Regions from separate parts of the Homo sapiens genome. Here all the other regions are linked to region 1. The links are contacts of gene promoters, found by promoter capture Hi-C in blood cells and fetal thymus (Javierre and others, 2016). All regions are on one chromosome and are shown on one strand. Each heading gives the region's core, a stretch centred on a gene start or on the middle of the fragment in contact. The rest is flanking DNA. Distances are from core to core; before and after follow the strand shown. Region 1 holds the start of C1orf53 (chromosome 1 open reading frame 53). Region 2 overlaps CRB1 (crumbs cell polarity complex component 1). Region 3 overlaps DENND1B (DENN domain containing 1B). Region 4 overlaps DENND1B (DENN domain containing 1B). Region 5 overlaps DENND1B (DENN domain containing 1B). Region 6 overlaps DENND1B (DENN domain containing 1B). Region 7 overlaps DENND1B (DENN domain containing 1B).

Region 1 (2,608 bases), core at 67-2,566:
AATATCCACCATATCTATATTGCGAAGTATGAGAACAAATTATATACATTATTTTTAAAAGGAGAGCATAAACAAGAACAATCAAAAGCTGCCAGTCACTTCCTAATGAGTCTTTATTCAGTTTCAGCACTTGAATGGGTCAGACCGACAGTGGATTCTCAGGGCCTACTAACTGTCATTATTTAAATAAGTCAATTTTAGGCAACCTCCGGGATTTTCTTCTCTACCCCTTTGGCTCAAGTCATACCATATAATATTAGTCCCATCAAGTACTGGAGGCACACACACATAGCTTATTAAATGGGTTCATTTCATACTGCTTTTCTATCTTTATTATAGTCAGTTTCTCTTTTTTTCTCACTGTTTCTTTTGTAAAGGTAACCATGCTGCCTTTAAACTCACGCAGACTGTGTTAGAAGGCGTAAAGGGAGAGAAGTTTAGATACTGGTACTAACAGACAATTGTCAAATCCGCAAAACAGGAGAAAACAGCTGAGTGTCTACAAATGCCAGATTGTAGTTCCCTCTGCTCCGTTAAGAGTTAAGAGAAAGGACAAGAAGGCAATGGAAAAATTAAAATAAATGTGTCAATGTCTTTTTTTCTCACTCTAAGAATCACTGGATTGCTAAGTGTTCAACTGACAATGCAGAAAAACACACAACACATTTTTGTTGTGACTTCTCAGTCCCTCCACCTTCTCCATCAATTCCTTAACACCCCCTTCCGCAACACACACACACATACACCACAAAAGAGTGGTAGTGGGTCCCACACTGCGACCGGAGTTTAGCTCGGACGCTGATCGGAAAACAAATCACACTCATACTCAAGACAGACACAGGTTTCCCGCGAAAATGTCGGGGCTGGAAGTTCGTGTGCGTGCGCGAATGTCGCCCGAGGCAGGACCGCACCGGTATCCAGCAACCTTTGCCTCTGCCGGGCGGCCTCCGGGTCCGGAGAGGCCCGGGATGCGCAGGCGCGCCGAGCCCGGGGCGGCCGCGGCGGGGCGGGGCGGGCAGGAGGGAGTCTCACCGCGCAGGCGGCAGCGTGCAGCTCCGCGATCTGTCGCTCCGCCGCGGTTAACTCTTCGCTCACCGAAGGCCTCGCCGCTCTCTCCGGCCTACCGGGCGTGCTGGGCGCGGAGCCGCCGCAGTTTCCCTCGTTAGCAGGGCAGAGGGTTAAGCTGAGCTGCTGTCGGAACCCAGCTCTTACCCAGAGAGGTGCTGGCGGCGGGGCGGCGGAAGGTTGCCTGCAGAGCGCGGCACCCGTCCGTGCCCAGATCTGCCTGGCCGCCATGCCGCCGCCGGCCTTGGGAGGCGGAGCACCCGGCGCTGGGGCCCGGAGGGGCGACCAACGCGGGCCTGGGCGCGGCGAGCCGGTCTTGGGCAGCTCGTGGCCATCGCTGCGTGGGGTCGGTTCGCGCTGCCGTGGCAGCAGGTGGAGGCGGACGGACTGAGCCTTCTGCCTTCACCAGCGGGCCCGCTGCGGAAATAAAATGGGCTTTTAAGGCAGCTAACGAGGCTCTGATGAGCTGCCTGGACGGGGAAGAGCCTGGTGTTTCCACATCTTTGGACTTAAATTCTAAGCTCTTCCTTCTTCCCCCGCGCCCACCCAGCTGAAAGGTGGACATTTTTTGTTATGTCAGACTGGACTTGGGATCATTCAGTATAATCTCCACAACTGTTAAGATCCCAGAAAGTGATCAAAAGACCCGAGGTTTGTGAATAACCACCTTGGGCCTATCCAGAAAAGGCTGAGTGTTTCCAGGTAGTATGTGATAGGAATAAAGGTGGAAGCGGAGCCTTCTTTGCTTGGTTCTTTGGCCCACCCTAGAATAAGGGCCAAAAGTAAAATCGCACACTGAATAAGAAAAGGTGTTGTGTTCATGTTGCTGAATATTTACAAAATCCAACCTAAAACTATTATCTCCTTTCTGATGGATGAAAGTGATCTTGATACCGTCACATAATTGTATTTGAGAAAATTACGGCAAGCCCGGGAAGTAATTTCAGGTGTTAGGATTAAATTAACACCACCCCATCTTCCTACCCCCCGTCTGGGTTTCAAGAAAAGGAGGGCTGAAGAGTACCAATTTTGTTAGTGCTCTTCAATACTGGGAGGGCAGGAATTGATCTTTGAGGACAAAAGTAGATTATTCAGTTGTACAGGAGAAAGGCGACTAAGCCACTATAGACCATCACTACGTGTTTTTTGGTTTCTGTGTTTACCATGCAACCCTGTAGTCATATTTTCATTTTCTTAAATCTTAGTAGGAGGTGATTGAAACAACCCTATTGGTTCATTAAAAATCTCAGTGAATTAATAAATTGGTATTATATTTTGCAAATTGATTTTCTTTTTGTTGGAATAAAAAATTAGGATCTGGAGACTGTTAAGTAATCTGAGGAGAGTTTAAAATCTGGAAAGCGAAGGAGGGACCCTAGAGAAAGCTGTGGAAGAGTGGGACCAAACATGAGATCACCAAAAATGAACAACTGTGATGTTATTCACATTCACCATAAGTCAGGTCCCCGCACCAACAAAAACCTGAGATTGATTTACTGCATTGTCTTTAAAATTAAGGATCAGGATCCACTAATAGGCCATG
Region 2 (2,608 bases), core at 55-2,554, 500 kb after region 1:
GACATTTTTGAAGTTATAGGATGGTTGCAAGTAGCACTCTATCTACATGCTTCCTCATTCACGTCCCCCTGATGTCTCTACCTAAAGAACAAATGAGAACTTCCCGAGAAGCCATCAGCAAACCTTTACTCATATTCATCTCTAAATGGATCAATGGCAAGAAGTGGGAGGAAAGAGGATTATTCTTTGGAACTGAGAATGAAGTCAGCCTCCTCTAATGTACCTGGCTGCTAGGAAAAGAAGGTTATTAAAGAAACCACTGTTCTTTTATGAAGAGGTAAAGCAAGAGGGAATACATGATGATTGGACAGACACATGTTGTGTGTTTGAGTATCTATACATATACATACATACATTATGTATTCCTAGTGCTCCACAAAAGAAAGGGAACATAACGCTAAAGAGCTAAAGGAAGAAAACCCAAAATCTGGCTTATAACAAAACATCAAGAACATTTTAGAATACTACATTATTTTCATGACAATATGTGTGAAAACTTGATTTCTGTGGAAATAAAGTAAAAAGACACAAAAATGAAAACAATAACTGAAAAGACAACAGGATGGGATTAAGGACTACAGACAGAGAAGAAAAGGATGCAGTGTAAAATAACAAGAATAAACTAAAACTAGCATTGCAATAGTGCTATTAAAATCTACATTGGGGGCAGAAAAGTGGAAAACTGGTACTGCAGATAATCAAAGCAGTATGATCTAGGAATTAGTTATACAGATATGTTTAGTTGATGAGAACTCATTAAGCTAAATACTTGGTTTATGTAATTTTTTGTTTATTGTACTTCAATAAAAATTTTAAAACTGCATCTGTGATAAGAGAACAAAACTGAGAAACTATCCCAGAGATAAAGGGACTAGAGAACAGAAATTAGACCTTAAAATTTCAAATGTAACTGAGAGAGAAATCAAAATACTTTGAAGTGGATTAACAATAAAAGACAGCTGACCTATTTTTCTTGTTGAATAAGACAGGAGACAGCATATTAAAATGGATGACTATCTTTTAGTCAACATTAATTTTAAACGACATACATCTAAATAATGATGAAATAATTAACTGTGATTGGATAAAGAAAATGTGGTACATATACACCATGGAATACTATGCAGCCATAAAAAAGAACAAGGTAATGTCTTTTGTGAGAACATGGATGGAGCAGGAGGCCATTGTCCTTAGGAAACTAATGCAGGAACAGAAAACCAAATACTGCATGTTCTCACATATAAGTGAGAGCTAAATGATGAGAACTCATGAACGCAAAGAAGGGAACAACAGACACTGAGGACTCCTTGGGGATGGAGGGTAAGTTGAGGGAGAGGAGCAGAAAAAAATAACTAAATAACTATTGAGTACTAGGCTTAGCACCTGCATGACAAAATAATCTGTGCGACAAACTCCTGTGACACGAGTTTAACTGTATAACAAACCTGCACATGTACTCCTAATCCCAAAATAAAAGTTAAAAAGAAAACAAAACAAAAAGAAGAAAAACAATAATAAAAATTAACTGTGGATACAAGGAAAACATAAAAATATTAATTTATATTAAAATATTTTAAAAGACATAAAAATAAACAAATTTAAAAGATACAAATAAATGCCAAAAGAATATCAAAATAATAGAATTAAAGTTAAAACATTTTGAATATAAAAGACTGAGACCCTGAAATTCTGTGCACAGAGAAACTGTCATTCAAATTTGTAGATAACAGAAAGAGATACTACTTATGATAAGTGCATAGCCTAAAAATACTTAAAGATAAACTTCATGTGACTAAGGGAAAAATTATAATATCATTGGGAAGAATATTAGTTAAATAGCATAAAATAGTACATTATCAAATATTAGTGGGCAGATTATTAAAGAACTGGTCATAAACATTAAAACCAGTTCAATTTGAAAGTATGGCTAAATCATTTTGCAAAACAGAAGACACAAAATACGACAAATTGTTCAAGGTTATTCTTCAAAAATAAATTTCCAAAATGTTAAAATAATAATTGGATGACAACAATTTGTTCCCAAGCTCATGATTATGTTAGCAAAGACCATGCTATCATGGAAAAGATGAAATTTTATTTAAAACATGCTAAATTCTTTGTCTTACATAGTGGGCAATCAAAACAATATGATTTCACTTTGACCTTGGTAATTAGAGGAGAATAGATTAAAACATTTAAAAAATGTTTTTAAGTTTAAAAGTAGCCTAATGAAAACAAAATATGGAAATTCCAGAACACTGGTGGAGATAAACATCAACAAAATAATATACAAAAAATACAAAAATTATTTTTAAAACACCAATTTAAAAAAACCCACACTCTACAATAACAGAAAATGAGAAGGTAGGAGCAAGGCACTACAAATGGTATAATAATAGCTATATATATGCTTAAACACAGCAGTAAAAGGCAAGGACTCAAAAATTGTATTACAAAAAGGAAGTTTAAAGATATTGTGAGGTAGCAATTTATTCGGATACAAAACTATATATAATATAATTTCAATTTCTCTGTGTATATGTATGTGTGTGTTGGGGAAGGGAAGAATAGAGAAAAACAGAGAGGAAAAGAAGGGAAGGAAAGCAGA
Region 3 (2,608 bases), core at 80-2,579, 390 kb after region 1:
GTCAATAGAAAGAAATGGAATTGAGGGTACAGTAGACTTAAGTCTATGGTGATATCAGAAGATGAAAATTTAATAAAAAGTGTTAAAAATTAATTTTAATATAAGGGAAATAATATATGTTTAGCTTCTTACAATTGATGTATGACAATGACAAAATGAACATTCTTTTTTCTTCATTAACTATATCTCTGTCTATGTAAAGGAATATGCATTCTCCTCTAAAATAAGTGATTAAATAAAGGAAAACCATATTAAATATTGAAAGTGAATTTAGGCTATAGCAGACTTTCCAAGTAGTTCAGTCTAATATTCCTAAAGTAAAGGTCCCAAATTCCACAGAATTAAACTGTGAAAAGCCCTGCTTCTACTTTCAGTTTCATAAGGTACCGTAAACTTTTTATTTGTTCTTAATGCATGCACAAAATATTTCCATATTGGAATTAGTATACACATCACGGTAAAGAATTTGGTGATGAACTAATTATTGATTTTGTTGTTAACTCTCTCATTAATGTAATGTAACTGGTGAGAGATTACTTACATGCAGCAAATATGGTTATTTACCTACTACTGCGTGTTTTATTTTTCTTCAGGTTATCTTCTGAAGATGGTGAAGAAGCTTCTGCTTATCTCTATGAGAGTGATGACTCTGTTGAAACAAGAGTGAAGACTCCTTACTCAGGTGAAATGGACTTACTAGGAGAGATTCTTGATACATTGAGCACACACAGCTCAGATCAGGGGAAGCTGGCAGCTGCAAAGAGCTTGGATTTCTTTAGATCAATGGATGACATTGATTACAAACCTACGGTTAGTAGATTTTTTTTTACTTATAAAATTAGAAGAAAATATTCTTGCCTTGGCTGTGATTACTGGATCTTATACTCTTTGTTGGTAGAAGCATTTAACCTCTAAGTAGGTAAGGGTCAAAACTTCAAAAATATGATAAAATTTAATCACTAGAAATTATTTCTATTATTAAAATTCTAGTATTTTCCCTTTCATTTATCTAGTTCTAGTGGTTATTGTCATTAATTGAAATTATTTTGTCAAGCAATAATGTTTTCTTGCAACCTAATTTTATACTTGTCTCTGGGGAATTTTTAAAATGTGAAATGTTTTCACTTTTTCCCCATATTTCCTGAGTTTTCAAAAAAACTTCAGTAAATGTATTCATTCAAATCATTTTTCTTACCCAAAAATGAACATGATTTTATTTTTTAACATTATTTTATGCAAATTTAACTGAATGCTTAAAAACAGCAGAGATAGAAGTATGAGTAATGACAATCCTGTTCTGATAGTAAGTGACTTCAGAACTTGGCATTAATTATATAATCTAGTTTGAATTTGTTAGGTGACAGCTGCAAGGCAGTGGAAACCAAAGTCCATTCCATTTCATCCCTGTTAATAGAGCCATTTGGAAATGTTTAAAATTGACTCTCAATGCTGTATTTTCTCTGGGAGGAACTTAACGCTATTAACATTTATTTCAAAAGAGAAAAAAGAACTAAATTAATGCTTATTAAAAGTTTTCTGAGTTTGTTGTTTCTTCTTTTTTTCAGAATAAATCTAATGCTCCTAGTGAGAATAACCTGGCTTTCCTCTGTGGTGGTTCTGGTGACCAAGCAGAGTGGAATCTTGGGCAAGACGATAGTGCCCTCCATGGCAAACACCTCCCTCCATCTCCTAGGAAGCGGGTTTCCTCTAGTGGTTTGACAGATTCTCTGTTTATCCTGAAAGAGGAAAACAGTAACAAGCACCTCGGTGCTGACAATGTGAGTGACCCTACTTCAGGACTGGATTTCCAACTCACTTCCCCTGAAGTTTCCCAGACTGATAAAGGAAAAACAGAAAAGAGGGAAACACTAAGCCAGATTTCAGATGATCTGCTTATACCCGGTCTTGGGCGGCATTCATCGACTTTTGTTCCTTGGGAGAAAGAAGGGAAAGAAGCCAAAGAGACTTCAGAAGATATTGGACTGCTCCATGAAGTAGTGTCATTATGTCATATGACATCTGACTTCCAACAAAGCTTGAACATTTCAGACAAAAACACAAATGGAAACCAAACTTAAATCTTGCATCCAAGCTTCTATGGAGACATTTTGAGATTCAATGCAATCTGTATAATAAACAGAATTATTTGTAGGAATGGCAACTCATACTATTTAAATTTTTTTTTGCATTTGCAACATTTTTCTCACTTGTTCATTTCGAGGATATATGAAATGCATTGATTTTTAAATATAAAGCGAATTCTACTGTGCTTTTAAATCAGGTACTAGTGTGTATGTATGTTTAAAGTATGTATTGACCATGAGATTTCCCAGTGTTTGGTGCTTAATGCCGTTTATTTTATTTAAGCTAAGAATGCATATGTAACCCATGCACATAACCAGTAGCTACTATACTAATCTGGTTGAGCATGAACTGATCAAGATATCAAAACTTATCAAAACTAGCCTGAAGCTGATGAAACTGTTAACCCACTAATTGCCTTAATCTTAAAGCTGTTTTTTAAGCATACTTAAATAATGTATGAAAGTATGTATAAAGTTTGAAGGATAAGTTATTAGTGTTCTGCAGAGCAATAATGCCTTTTTCT
Region 4 (2,608 bases), core at 77-2,576, 370 kb after region 1:
GTGAATCCATCTGGTCCTGGACTCTTTTTGGTTGGTAAACTATTGATTATTGCCACAATTTCAGAGCCTGTTATTGGTCTATTCAGAAGACATTTATGCAGCCAAAAAACACATGAAGAAATGCTCATCATCACTGGCCATCAGAGAAATGCAAATCAAAACCACTATGAGATATCATCTCACACCAGTTAGAATGGCAATCATTAAAAAGTCAGGAAACAACAGGTGCTGGAGAGGATGCGGAGAAATAGGAACACTTTTACACTGTTGGTGGGACTGTAAACTAGTTCAACCATTGTGGAAGTCAGTGTGGCGATTCCTCAGGGATCTAGAACTAGAAATACCATTTGACCCAGCCATCCCATTACTGGGTATATACCCAAATGAGTATAAATCATGCTGCTATAAAGACACATGCACACGTATGTTTATTGCGGCACTATTCACAATAGCAAAGACTTGGAACCAACCCAAATGTCCAACAATGATAGACTGGATTAAGAAAATGTGGCACATATACACCATGGAATACTACGCAGCCATAAAAAATGATGAGTTCATATCCTTTGTAGGGACATGGATGAAATTGGAAACCATCAGTCTCAGTAAACTATCGCAAGAACAAAAAACCAAACACCGCATATTCTCACTCATAGGTGGGAATTGAACAATGAGATCACATGGACACAGGAAGGGGAATATCACACTCTGGGGACTGTGGTGGGGTTGGGGGAGGGGGAAGGGATAGTATTGGGAGATATACCTAATGCTAGATGACACATTAGTGGGTGCAGCGCACCAGCATGGCACATGTATACATATGTAACTAACCTGCACAATGTGCACATGTACCCTAAAACTTAGAGTATAATAAAAAAAATAAAATAAAATAAAATAAAAATAAATGAAAAAAAAAAAAAAAGAAAAAAAAAAAAAAAAAAGATTTGTTATGTGGTGAATTTAATTGCCTAAAGGCAAATTTCTGCAGGGACCTTTGTGATTTTTGTAATCTAGATAATTTTCATGTTCCTACTACTATTTTTCAAACTTCAATTTTTATACAGTTGAAATAGTAGAAAAATGCCCTAGAGCAGCCTCAGAAGACCTGGAAAAGATGGACAGTTTTTTGATAACAGTGAGGCTGTCTGTGTATGTTTGTATTTACGTGATTCATTTAAAACTTCCAACAATCCAGTCAGGGCAAGAATTATTATCCGCGTTTTTCAGATTTAGAAACAAATGGAGACTAATAAATGTGCCCAGAGTTCTACAAGTAATAAATAGCAGAATAGGAATTAAAAAGCAGGCAGACTGATTCTAGAACTTAGGTACCTAACCACTATTGTCATGCCTTTATGTTGGATGGAGTGATTGTAGAAGAGGGATAGTTAGAAATAAGGATATGGAGTTTAGAGCCAGACAGAACTTAACTTTGAAAAAGGTACTAGGATTTAACATTGAGCAAAACAAAATATCCCTAAGCCTTAATGTTTACATTTGTAAAATAATAATACAAGTTATTTTCCCAGGATGCTATAGGCATTATAGATAATGTATATAAAATATCTGCCACATAATAAGTACTTGATAATCGGTAGCTGTTTGTTTATGGTTACCATATCATATATCTTGAACTCCAGGTCTCTGTAGCAGTGGCACCATCTGATTTCTCTCTTGGTAGTTATAGTCCAGGATCACTAATAATCTCTAATCACTAAAGTAGTTAGGACTCCTAAAATTATCCATCTTCATTCTAAGTAGGGATGATCATAGATCCCAGTTTATGACTTGAATAGAAATATAAAACTTATTGTACCAAGAAATATCTTATTTATAAGTTTAGAAGACCTTGAGTATGTCATTTTATTGTGAGTAAAATTGAGTATAGTCTTCACTCATCCTATTCCTAGTCCATTTGATTATTCATTTCAGAAGTGGATCTCAGTTGTCTAAAGAACTTTACATTTCCAGTTTCCAGCTAGACTTGTCAGTGAGAGACTTTATTTTCATCTGTTTTTCAAAAGATGAAAATGGGATTATGATCATTTAAATTCCAAGAATGTATTTTAAAGTAAAACATTATGAAGTTTTACAATCTGTGTGCTGTAGAAAAGAACAAAGTTCTAAGCCTGTGTTTTAAACCTGTTTTCCATTATTTAGCTTATCTTTGGAATAGATTGTGAATCTATAGTCCACATCCAACAAATAGTAATTTGTGTGCTGGTCTGCTAATTAGTATGGCTGTTGCTCGTTTTGTTGATGAGGCTTAAATAAATGTCAAGGGTACAGCCATGAAGATCTCCCAATTAGGCTCCACATTTGTAAAACCCAACCCTTTTCCCTTTTGTGTAAAGATGACAGTTCCAACAGCAGCCCCAGCCTAACAGGACTCCAGGGAAAGGATCCTTCTCTGGTTTTATTGAAAACAGGGCCAGTGAGTCCACTGAGAATATAGCCACTGGTCATGGTGCAGAACAGTCTTAATCCTATGTACTTATGTTCTTTCATCAGTTTTATTTTAGAATAGAATACTGGAGACTTAGTGAAAAATATAAGATAACATAAATCTATAATCTGAGATTATGTTTAAAAATACTTACTTGTAAAC
Region 5 (2,608 bases), core at 31-2,530, 340 kb after region 1:
GTATATACATTTTGGAGTCATCAGCATGTAGGTAGAATTTAAAGCCATCAGCATGTAGATTAGATGAGATTACCAAAGGAAAAAGTATAAATAGAAATGATAAGAAAGTAGTATAAGAGGGCACTAGCAACGGAGGTTATGAAAGAGTGGATGAACAATTAGGTAGGACAGAAACCAGAAGAGTACTTTATATTAGCAGCCAACAAGAATACCAAAGAGGGAGGGATCAACACTGTCAAATGCTCATGACAGGCTCATTAAAACAAGGACCTAGCATTGATTACTGGATTTAGTAACCATGGATATATGATGACCTTAGCAAGAGCAATTTTGCTGACGTGGTGAGACAGAAATTGTGATTGAAGCATGAGAGGAGAGGACGTAGACACAAAGTACTGACAGCTCTTTTGAATTTTGCTGTGAAGAATGGAATAGCACATAACTAGAGAAGTAAGTGGGGTCAAGAGAAGAAATAACATGTTTGTATGCTGCTGGGAAGATCTAGTTAAGAAATAAAACTATATTCAGAAGAGAGAAGGAAAAATTGTTAGAGAAGTTAGTCTTTGCAAGAGCACAGGCAGTTTATTCATAACAGGAGAAAAGGCAGTCTGTGAGCGCAGATGGGTGAGGTAGGTAAATGTGTGACTTAGAGCTTGTAGAATTTCTCTTTTAATTACTTCGATTTTCTCTTTTTTGGTGAAATTAGGAAGAAAGATCGTCAACTGAAGGAGAATGGGAGAGGTCGTTAAACATTTAAGGAGAAAGAAGATAGGACATTGTGAAATGGATGGGGAGAGTGAATGGAGTGACTGCAAAGTAAAATAGAATTGCTTGGTATTCAAATCCTATTGGAGGTTGAGGTTTATAAATTTTGAGTGCAAATAGTCATTATGGCTGATGGGATTTTCTCCTGATACATGGAGCCTGCCACAGGCCTGCTGAGTACCTGCCTGTTCCTACTCCAGTGTGGGTATTTACTCTGGCTATTCCCTTTGCCTGGAATCCTCTTTTCCCATTAAACCTCCTCATGGCTTTGAAGACTTGGCTTAAATGCTGTCTTCATGAGACCTACCCTGACCACACTATTTAAAATAGAAAGTTCCTTGCCCTAGATTTCCTAACTTCCCTTAGGAAGTCTATCTTATTCTCTAACACTCATCACTTTCTCACATACTACATCATTTGTTGTTTCTTATTTCATGCTAAAACTCTCTTCCCCTACCTCCGCTACATGTTTAAGCATCACAAGGGCTTGGATTTTTGCCTGCTTCATTTATTCCTGTATTTCAGGTGTCTAGGAAAGTGCCTGGAATATAGCATATATATTCAGCGAAATATTCCCTGAATAATATAATTAGTTGATTCTTTTGGTCTGGTGATCATAAGGTTCAGCAGACTAAATTCTTTAGCACATTATTTAATGTCAATTGACATATCCTTGAAAGTAGTATTGTTGTCTTATTACTGTTATTTTAGGTTATTAGTTTTAATAGTACATTGCACTGAGTGGGCTCTTAATACTCTTCATAGTGTTTTCCTGTTCATGATACCATGGTAGTCTAATTTAGTATACTGGAGCCTGATAGTCATCTCATTACCTAATGGCATAAAAATAACAATTTATTTCTATTCTCCCACATACTTAATTTTCTTAGTTTGAGCTGACCTACCTTGCTTATTCCCACTTGTTGTAGGCAGTTTGTGTTTATATATAGCTACTAACTGAATGGCTTGCATTTAGCAGGTGTCTATAAATATCTGTTGATGTAATTTATTGTAACACTTCAGTGTAGTTTTCACTAACCTGTCAAGGTTTACTGAACATTTCTAAGAAGAAATATTTAAATTAGACTTATTAAATTTTTAGCCCGGAGCATTATATAAAAAGGCAAATTTTAAAGATTCATAAGAAATTAGTTTATTTTTGAAAGCAATTTTTTACTGTATTTATTTTTCCTTAAATTGCTGATTGATTTTTAAAACTATTTTTCTCTAGCTCTCAAGACTTGAATCTATTAGTTACCTCTTATCTTTGTACCTAAGAAGGGTTTCTAATGTGAGATAAATTTCTGAGCCATGGTAATGTTTCCTCCAGGCTGAAGAAGGAATTTGGGTGTGTAGATTTGTTTATTGTGTTGCTTCAGCACTTCTGCAGCTTTGCTTCAGTAACAGGACTGCCATGTTAACACAAAAAACAACACTGAATCTTGCTACTTCCTCAGCTCGGCAGAGAATTGCACCACTGCCTCATCTCTCTACCAGAATCTTTTTTATAAGGATTTAAAAAAGATCAAATATTTCTTTTAAAATGATACTAGAATCCTGAAATTCAGTTGTCATAGAGTTTTGATGGAGTGATTGCAATTAAATATTTATATAACATGTGTCTAGACCACTAAGGGAATTAGAACACTGATAATAGCATAACTTGTTTTAGGATTTTTAGATTCAATGCTGGAAATACACTGACTGGTAAATAATTAAAGAATTGTAAAAGGCATATGACTTATCTCTTAGAGGACATATACATTCCTACCAGTTTACTGGCAGCTATATTGAAGTGTAATCTGTGACTTTGATCAAAACATATTCTTTATATTTTTTGGAA
Region 6 (2,608 bases), core at 49-2,548, 310 kb after region 1:
CTTCTTGGATTGCCATGTAGTAAATGCTGTTTACGTCGTCATTATTAAAAATAAAATATTAAAATCAGTAGATTTAGTAAGGAAAATCCCTTTAGCATAACCACAAACAAAGCATCTTTCCAGAAAGGAAAACACTGCCTTAAACATGACAATACTTTTAAATGATTGTATTAAATAACTAAGAAATGGTCTTTAGTTATACCTCTTTGTATCACTTGTGTCAGAAGCTATAAAAAAATAAGTCAAATTTTTAAATAACAGCTAATGCTGAAGAAATGTTTGTTTGAGTTAAAATATTGTTTAGTATATTCAAAGACATACTTGATTATCCTGCCTGAGAGCACAGAAGTAACACTCAAGTTTATTCCCTTTAATGCTTAAGGTGCTGTCATGTGTTTCCATCACTCAAGCTTTCCTGGGCTGCCTTGAACCTTGCTAATGGATAAAAAATAAGTTACTTTAAGAATAAAGATTGGTTAGTAATCCGGTCCTCCGTTTGACAAGGTGGAGGAGTTATCTTTCAAACATTTTTTGATTATTTTCTTTAAAACATTATCAGTAAGTAATGTTGTTGTATTTAGTGATTAAGCTCAAGCAATTTAAACACAGGGTTGGCATCCATAATTTAAAAGGCCATTCACTAAATCTTTGTCTTAACATTTACATTTAAGAAACTTGTAATTGTCAACTTATTAGAGTTTTAAAAATCCAAGTTGAAAAGTACTACTCACAGTTTTATGGTTACTAAAACATTTTACACATCCTTTCATGTCATTTCTCTTGCTTGAGCACAGATAGACCTGTTGACTTGAGAGATGGTTACCACCAAAGAAATATTTGGTGTGCATCTGGCTTTTTAATGGATAAAAGTTGTTTTATGGCACTTTCTTTCTGCTCATTTCTAATTAGTAGGGAGAGAATTTTGCTTAATTGCTTCAGTAATAATATACAGTTTCTCCTCAAGTACTTTGGAATAGTTAGAACTAGGGACTTGGGTAGTAAGTGTTCCATTTATATATCACTGATATGTTTTATGAGAATGGAGAGTGTTTTTCTTATTGCCTTAAGTTGTGGGGAAGAAAAATGTAATTTTTAATAGTATGAACAAAGTTAATGCACAATCTATTAATTTTTTCTAAGTATTTAAATTCACACAAAAAGCTAGAAACAGCAATGTCTAATTTAGAAAAATTAGTTCCTTTTTCTGTCTTAAGTTGCTGAATCATAGGTAAATAGAACATTAGTAGGTAGCTGTAGTTTTTCTTTTTTCAAGACAGATCCAGCAACTTGAGGATAAAGTAATAAAATAATATGTACAAATAGAATATTTTGATGCTGATGATTAAACTTTATAGTTTGACTGTGAGGTTCTTTTTCATTGACTTCTAGCTAAAGTGCCAACAATGGAAGAAAATTACTGTTTCCATGGTTAATATACTCTGAAAGTAGAGTTGCTGTATCTTACATAATAATAGCATTGGGACATGTAGAAGAAAAATGCTGTATAACCTGAAAATCATTTATTATTATTTCCTGTGAGAATCTGCAAATATTTGAACATTCCCATGAGATATCTGACAGCAGAGTCTTTCAGATATTTTAAATTTAAAATAGCCATCAATATGCAGACATTTTTGCTTAGTTTGTTTATACTCCTTTTGTAATGGTGACATTACATTGAGTCCAGGTGCATTAAGGAACTGAATAAGTATAATGTTGATGTTTTGGATTATATTTCACATTTTTTACGTTATCATTCTTTCTGATGCCCTAATTTTCTTTCACAGTGAACTCTTGCTAAGTCATACACGTCCTGATAGTATAAGATCTAATCTATGTTTTAAGTATTTTCTTGTTCTTACAAAGTTTTCTACTCCCGGTACAATATATAGAACTTGAAAGATACTTATTCTTAAAACAAACAAACACAAACATTATGTCAATAATGATTATCACTCTGAAGTTGAGCAGCATACTAGGGTAGAAAAACAGCTGTATTTCATCCATAACTTACTTGTGGCTTAATTATTCTATATAAATAATTCATATAGTAACTAGCAGATATTTATTTAACACTCAAAATGCAGGGTACTGGGTTGGGTGCTGCAGGGCAGGGATCCCCAGCTCCCGTTAGGAACCAGGCCAGATGGCAGGAGGTGAGTGGCAGGCAAGGGAATGAAGCTTCATCTGTATTTACAGCCGCTCCCCATGGCTCACATTACTGCTTGAGCTCCACCTCCTGTCTCATAGGAGCAAAACCCCTATTATGAACTGCATATGTGAGGGATCTAGGTTGCATGCTCCTTATGAGAATCTAATGCCTGATGATCTGTCACTGTCTCCCATTACCCCCAGATAAGACCATCTAGTTGCAAGAAAACAAGCTCAGGGCTCCCACTGATTGATTCTACATTATAGTGAGTTGTAGAATTATTTCGTTATGTATTACAATGTAATAATAATATAAATAAAGTACACAATAAACGTAACGCGCTTGAATTATCCCACAACTATTCCCCACTCCTCTGGTCCGTGGAAAAATTGTCTTCCACAAAACCCGCGTCTGGTGCCAAGAAGTTTGGGGACCACTGCCATAGGGAATGCAAAG
Region 7 (2,608 bases), core at 28-2,527, 300 kb after region 1:
TTTCAGTCCTCATCACCAACATATACCTTTTTGTATAGAATATAGACAAAAAATTTAAATTATAGTTTAATGCTGTAGTCATAGTTATTGGTTTATGTTATCCTTGCAATATGCTTTATGCTAAACATAGGTATAGAGCTGGCCATGAATTCTTGTTTCATGGGACTGAACTTAAATGGGTAAATTTTAAAGAATATAATTTGTTTACAGTTTGATATAACTGTGCCTATTTTATAAGAATTTTTGTTGTAGTTATGTTTAATATAAGATGAGGAAATATTCAATTTTAAGCATTTTTACTAAATCTTTTCGTATGAGTTGTAGTCAGACTTTCTCAGGAGGCAAAGTTGTTTCTATCCTTTCATAATATAGGATTTTCCTTTTTTCTTTTCCCAAGCCTAATGCATTAAGATAATGTTTTCTGTTTCCAAACTCATCATAACTTTGTAAAGTAAATATACTGATTTGTATTCATAATTGTGTTTTTTTTATAGAGAGTGAAAAACAAATCATTGGAAGATGTTGTTATGTTAAATGTTGATACAAACACATTAGAATCACCATTTAGTGACTTGAACAACCTACCAAGTGATGTGGTAAGTATGAAGGCTATTCAGTGGTGAACATATATGTTTTCTCCTGGACCTCTGAATTACTAAGTTATTTTTCCCACTTTTAATATCTGAAATAAAAGGGTTGGGTATTTGCATGGGGTGTGAGAGAAATCAATGTTGATTCTATATTTAATATTTTTACCTTTTAGCAGTTGAGATTTTGAATGGAACATCATATTCCTTATTGTAAAAGTAAGATCATAATTAAAAAGCTAGATGCATTCATTAGGCAGAGTTTCTTTAAACCTAAGTCTCTTCATCTCATCTTAATCATTATATTACAAAGTAGGCATTTCTGTCTGCCTAGTGGCATGTCTTGCAAAAGAATGAGAGAGTTTTTGAAGGCAAGAAGAAGAAGGGGGCCAATTATCGGCTTTTGCTTCCCTGCCACCTGCCAGCGCTTTTCCTTTTAATTAATGATCTGATGTTACTGGTCAATATAATAAGAAATGCTTGTACAGTTGGGGTCAGAAAATTCTGGCTTTGATCTCCCTCAACTTTCTGAAACATTTATTTGTTTTCTCTAAATTATTTCAGTTTTATTTTAATCTTTTCTATCCTGCTGAGGGCTGCAAGAATGAAAACCTACACTGTTTGTCATTTGCTTTGGCAGAGCAAAGACTGCTTACTTAGAATTCTATTTGTAAATTAAACTGCAAACCCAGTTTGTCATAAAAGACATCTGATCCTTTTGAAATGACGAAAACTGTCTTTTGTCTGTAAAGGCTGATAAATTAAGTGCCAGTTCTCTTCTGGTCTTTGATCTTGCGGAGGGTTGTGTGTGTGTGTGCGTGTGTCTGCAGCTTATAATGGGACATATTCTGTATGTCACGTTAAATAGTCTCCAAAAGTGCATTATTTTTGGCCTTCATATTCCTTAGTACAGGACAAAAATGCAAACTAGTACTGTTTCTGTATATATTTTAATGGCTACTTAAAAATATCTTTATAACATAGTTCTAAGTTAAAATAACTTCCTTTTTAAAAAAACAAAGCATTTATTCTTTATATGGATATTAAAATTTGGGAATAAAAATGCCTTCAGAGCATATTTTTCTGTAATATTGAACTACTTTGAAATCCATTATTAAGGAGTTTGAGAAAGTGAATTTAAAAATCCTAAACTCAAAAATACACTAATACCAGCCTTGATTGTCCTTCTGTCTAATGATAGGAAAAATATGATTTTAAAGTCAAAATCAGATTATTTATGCCCATAATACCGTAAAATACTTGCTGACCTTGAGACATATTAAAATTCAACTACCTTATCTTACTGTAGTAAAACTTATGCTATGAATGTACAAATCTAATCCTAGGCCAGTGAAAAATTACATCTTTTTAGCTCATTATAACTAGATTACCTCATTATAAAATTTTTGCAAAAACAAAATCACAAAGAAATTATTAGAGTTACTCATTTAAAAACTAATCAAAGTATTATTCAATGGATAGAGAAATAATTATGAAAATAGAATCCCAACTTTTAAGAATGCTTTCCTTATATGCATGTACTTCCTACCGTTAATGCCTTAGGGAGAAAGATTGTTAAAAAGAGAAAGAAGAAAAAAAAGAGAAAGAAATTCAGCTTTTCTGTACGTGATATTAAAATTTTTATAGGCAGCTTCAATCAATGATAGATGATTCTTGAAAAAATAATCTTTGAAATTTTATTTTTTTGATGGGTGATTCTTTTTTAAATTGAAAAGTACTACTTTCCTAGTAGAATTAGTTTGATGATTAGAACATTTATTTAAATATATGGAGAAGTTAAATAATATTTCACACATGTAAGTATTTAAATATATGGAGAAGTAAATAATATTCACACATGTAAAGGCCTGAATATATAAAATGACAGAAGAGACTATCTTGTTATTTACTCATAAATGACAATATAAACATAACTGAAATATTTAAAAATATAGATAAAAATTATACTGAAAGGTGGTGTAGATTGATTAACTAAATATATGCTTGAAATTCAGGGACAC

The links. The method cuts DNA at HindIII sites, captures the fragments that hold promoters and counts their contacts. A CHiCAGO score of 5 or more calls a contact.
Region 2: a fragment that was not itself captured here is called in contact with the fragment with the promoter of C1orf53 in region 1 in 1 of 17 cell types (erythroblasts); the score reaches 5.0 in erythroblasts.
Region 3: a contact is called between a fragment that was not itself captured here and the fragment with the promoter of C1orf53 in region 1, in 4 of 17 cell types (M1 macrophages, monocytes, total B cells and 1 more). The highest score is 6.6, in M1 macrophages.
Region 4: a fragment that was not itself captured here is called in contact with the fragment with the promoter of C1orf53 in region 1 in 2 of 17 cell types (M1 macrophages and fetal thymus); the score reaches 5.4 in M1 macrophages.
Region 5: a fragment that was not itself captured here is called in contact with the fragment with the promoter of C1orf53 in region 1 in 4 of 17 cell types (M1 macrophages, M0 macrophages, activated CD4 T cells and 1 more); the score reaches 7.1 in M1 macrophages.
Region 6: a fragment that was not itself captured here is called in contact with the fragment with the promoter of C1orf53 in region 1 in 6 of 17 cell types (M2 macrophages, M1 macrophages, total B cells and 3 more); the score reaches 7.8 in M2 macrophages.
Region 7: a contact is called between a fragment that was not itself captured here and the fragment with the promoter of C1orf53 in region 1, in 1 of 17 cell types (M2 macrophages). The highest score is 6.5, in M2 macrophages.

The regions. Positions count from the first base shown.
Region 1 is chr1:197,901,338-197,903,945 of GRCh38, reverse strand. C1orf53 (chromosome 1 open reading frame 53) reads right to left here and starts at 1,316. Exons shown (of 3, transcript NM_001024594.3): 1 at 1,033-1,316. The coding sequence starts at 1,296. RefSeq lists silencers at 862-1,111, 1,282-1,431. The HindIII fragment of the contact is 7,446 bases long and covers 1-2,608 here.
Region 2 is chr1:197,400,923-197,403,530 of GRCh38, reverse strand. The region is part of intron 5 of CRB1 (crumbs cell polarity complex component 1); the gene reads right to left. Among named protein-coding and RNA genes, the nearest start is that of CRB1, 130 kb to the right of the region's middle. The HindIII fragment of the contact is 2,913 bases long and covers 1-2,608 here.
Region 3 is chr1:197,509,930-197,512,537 of GRCh38, reverse strand. It overlaps DENND1B (DENN domain containing 1B), which reads left to right. Exons shown (of 23, transcript NM_001195215.2): 22 at 594-810; 23 at 1,566-2,608. The coding sequence ends at 2,078. Among named protein-coding and RNA genes, the nearest start is that of CRB1, 240 kb to the right of the region's middle. The HindIII fragment of the contact is 1,416 bases long and covers 622-2,037 here.
Region 4 is chr1:197,529,720-197,532,327 of GRCh38, reverse strand. All of the region lies in intron 20 of DENND1B (DENN domain containing 1B), which reads left to right. Among named protein-coding and RNA genes, the nearest start is that of DENND1B, 240 kb to the left of the region's middle. The HindIII fragment of the contact is 3,130 bases long and covers 1-2,608 here.
Region 5 is chr1:197,558,973-197,561,580 of GRCh38, reverse strand. The region is part of intron 15 of DENND1B (DENN domain containing 1B); the gene reads left to right. Among named protein-coding and RNA genes, the nearest start is that of DENND1B, 220 kb to the left of the region's middle. The HindIII fragment of the contact is 4,556 bases long and covers 1-2,608 here.
Region 6 is chr1:197,587,624-197,590,231 of GRCh38, reverse strand. The region is part of intron 14 of DENND1B (DENN domain containing 1B); the gene reads left to right. Among named protein-coding and RNA genes, the nearest start is that of DENND1B, 190 kb to the left of the region's middle. The HindIII fragment of the contact is 1,771 bases long and covers 413-2,183 here.
Region 7 is chr1:197,605,061-197,607,668 of GRCh38, reverse strand. It overlaps DENND1B (DENN domain containing 1B), which reads left to right. Exons shown (of 23, transcript NM_001195215.2): 13 at 495-596. Among named protein-coding and RNA genes, the nearest start is that of DENND1B, 170 kb to the left of the region's middle. The HindIII fragment of the contact is 4,151 bases long and covers 1-2,608 here.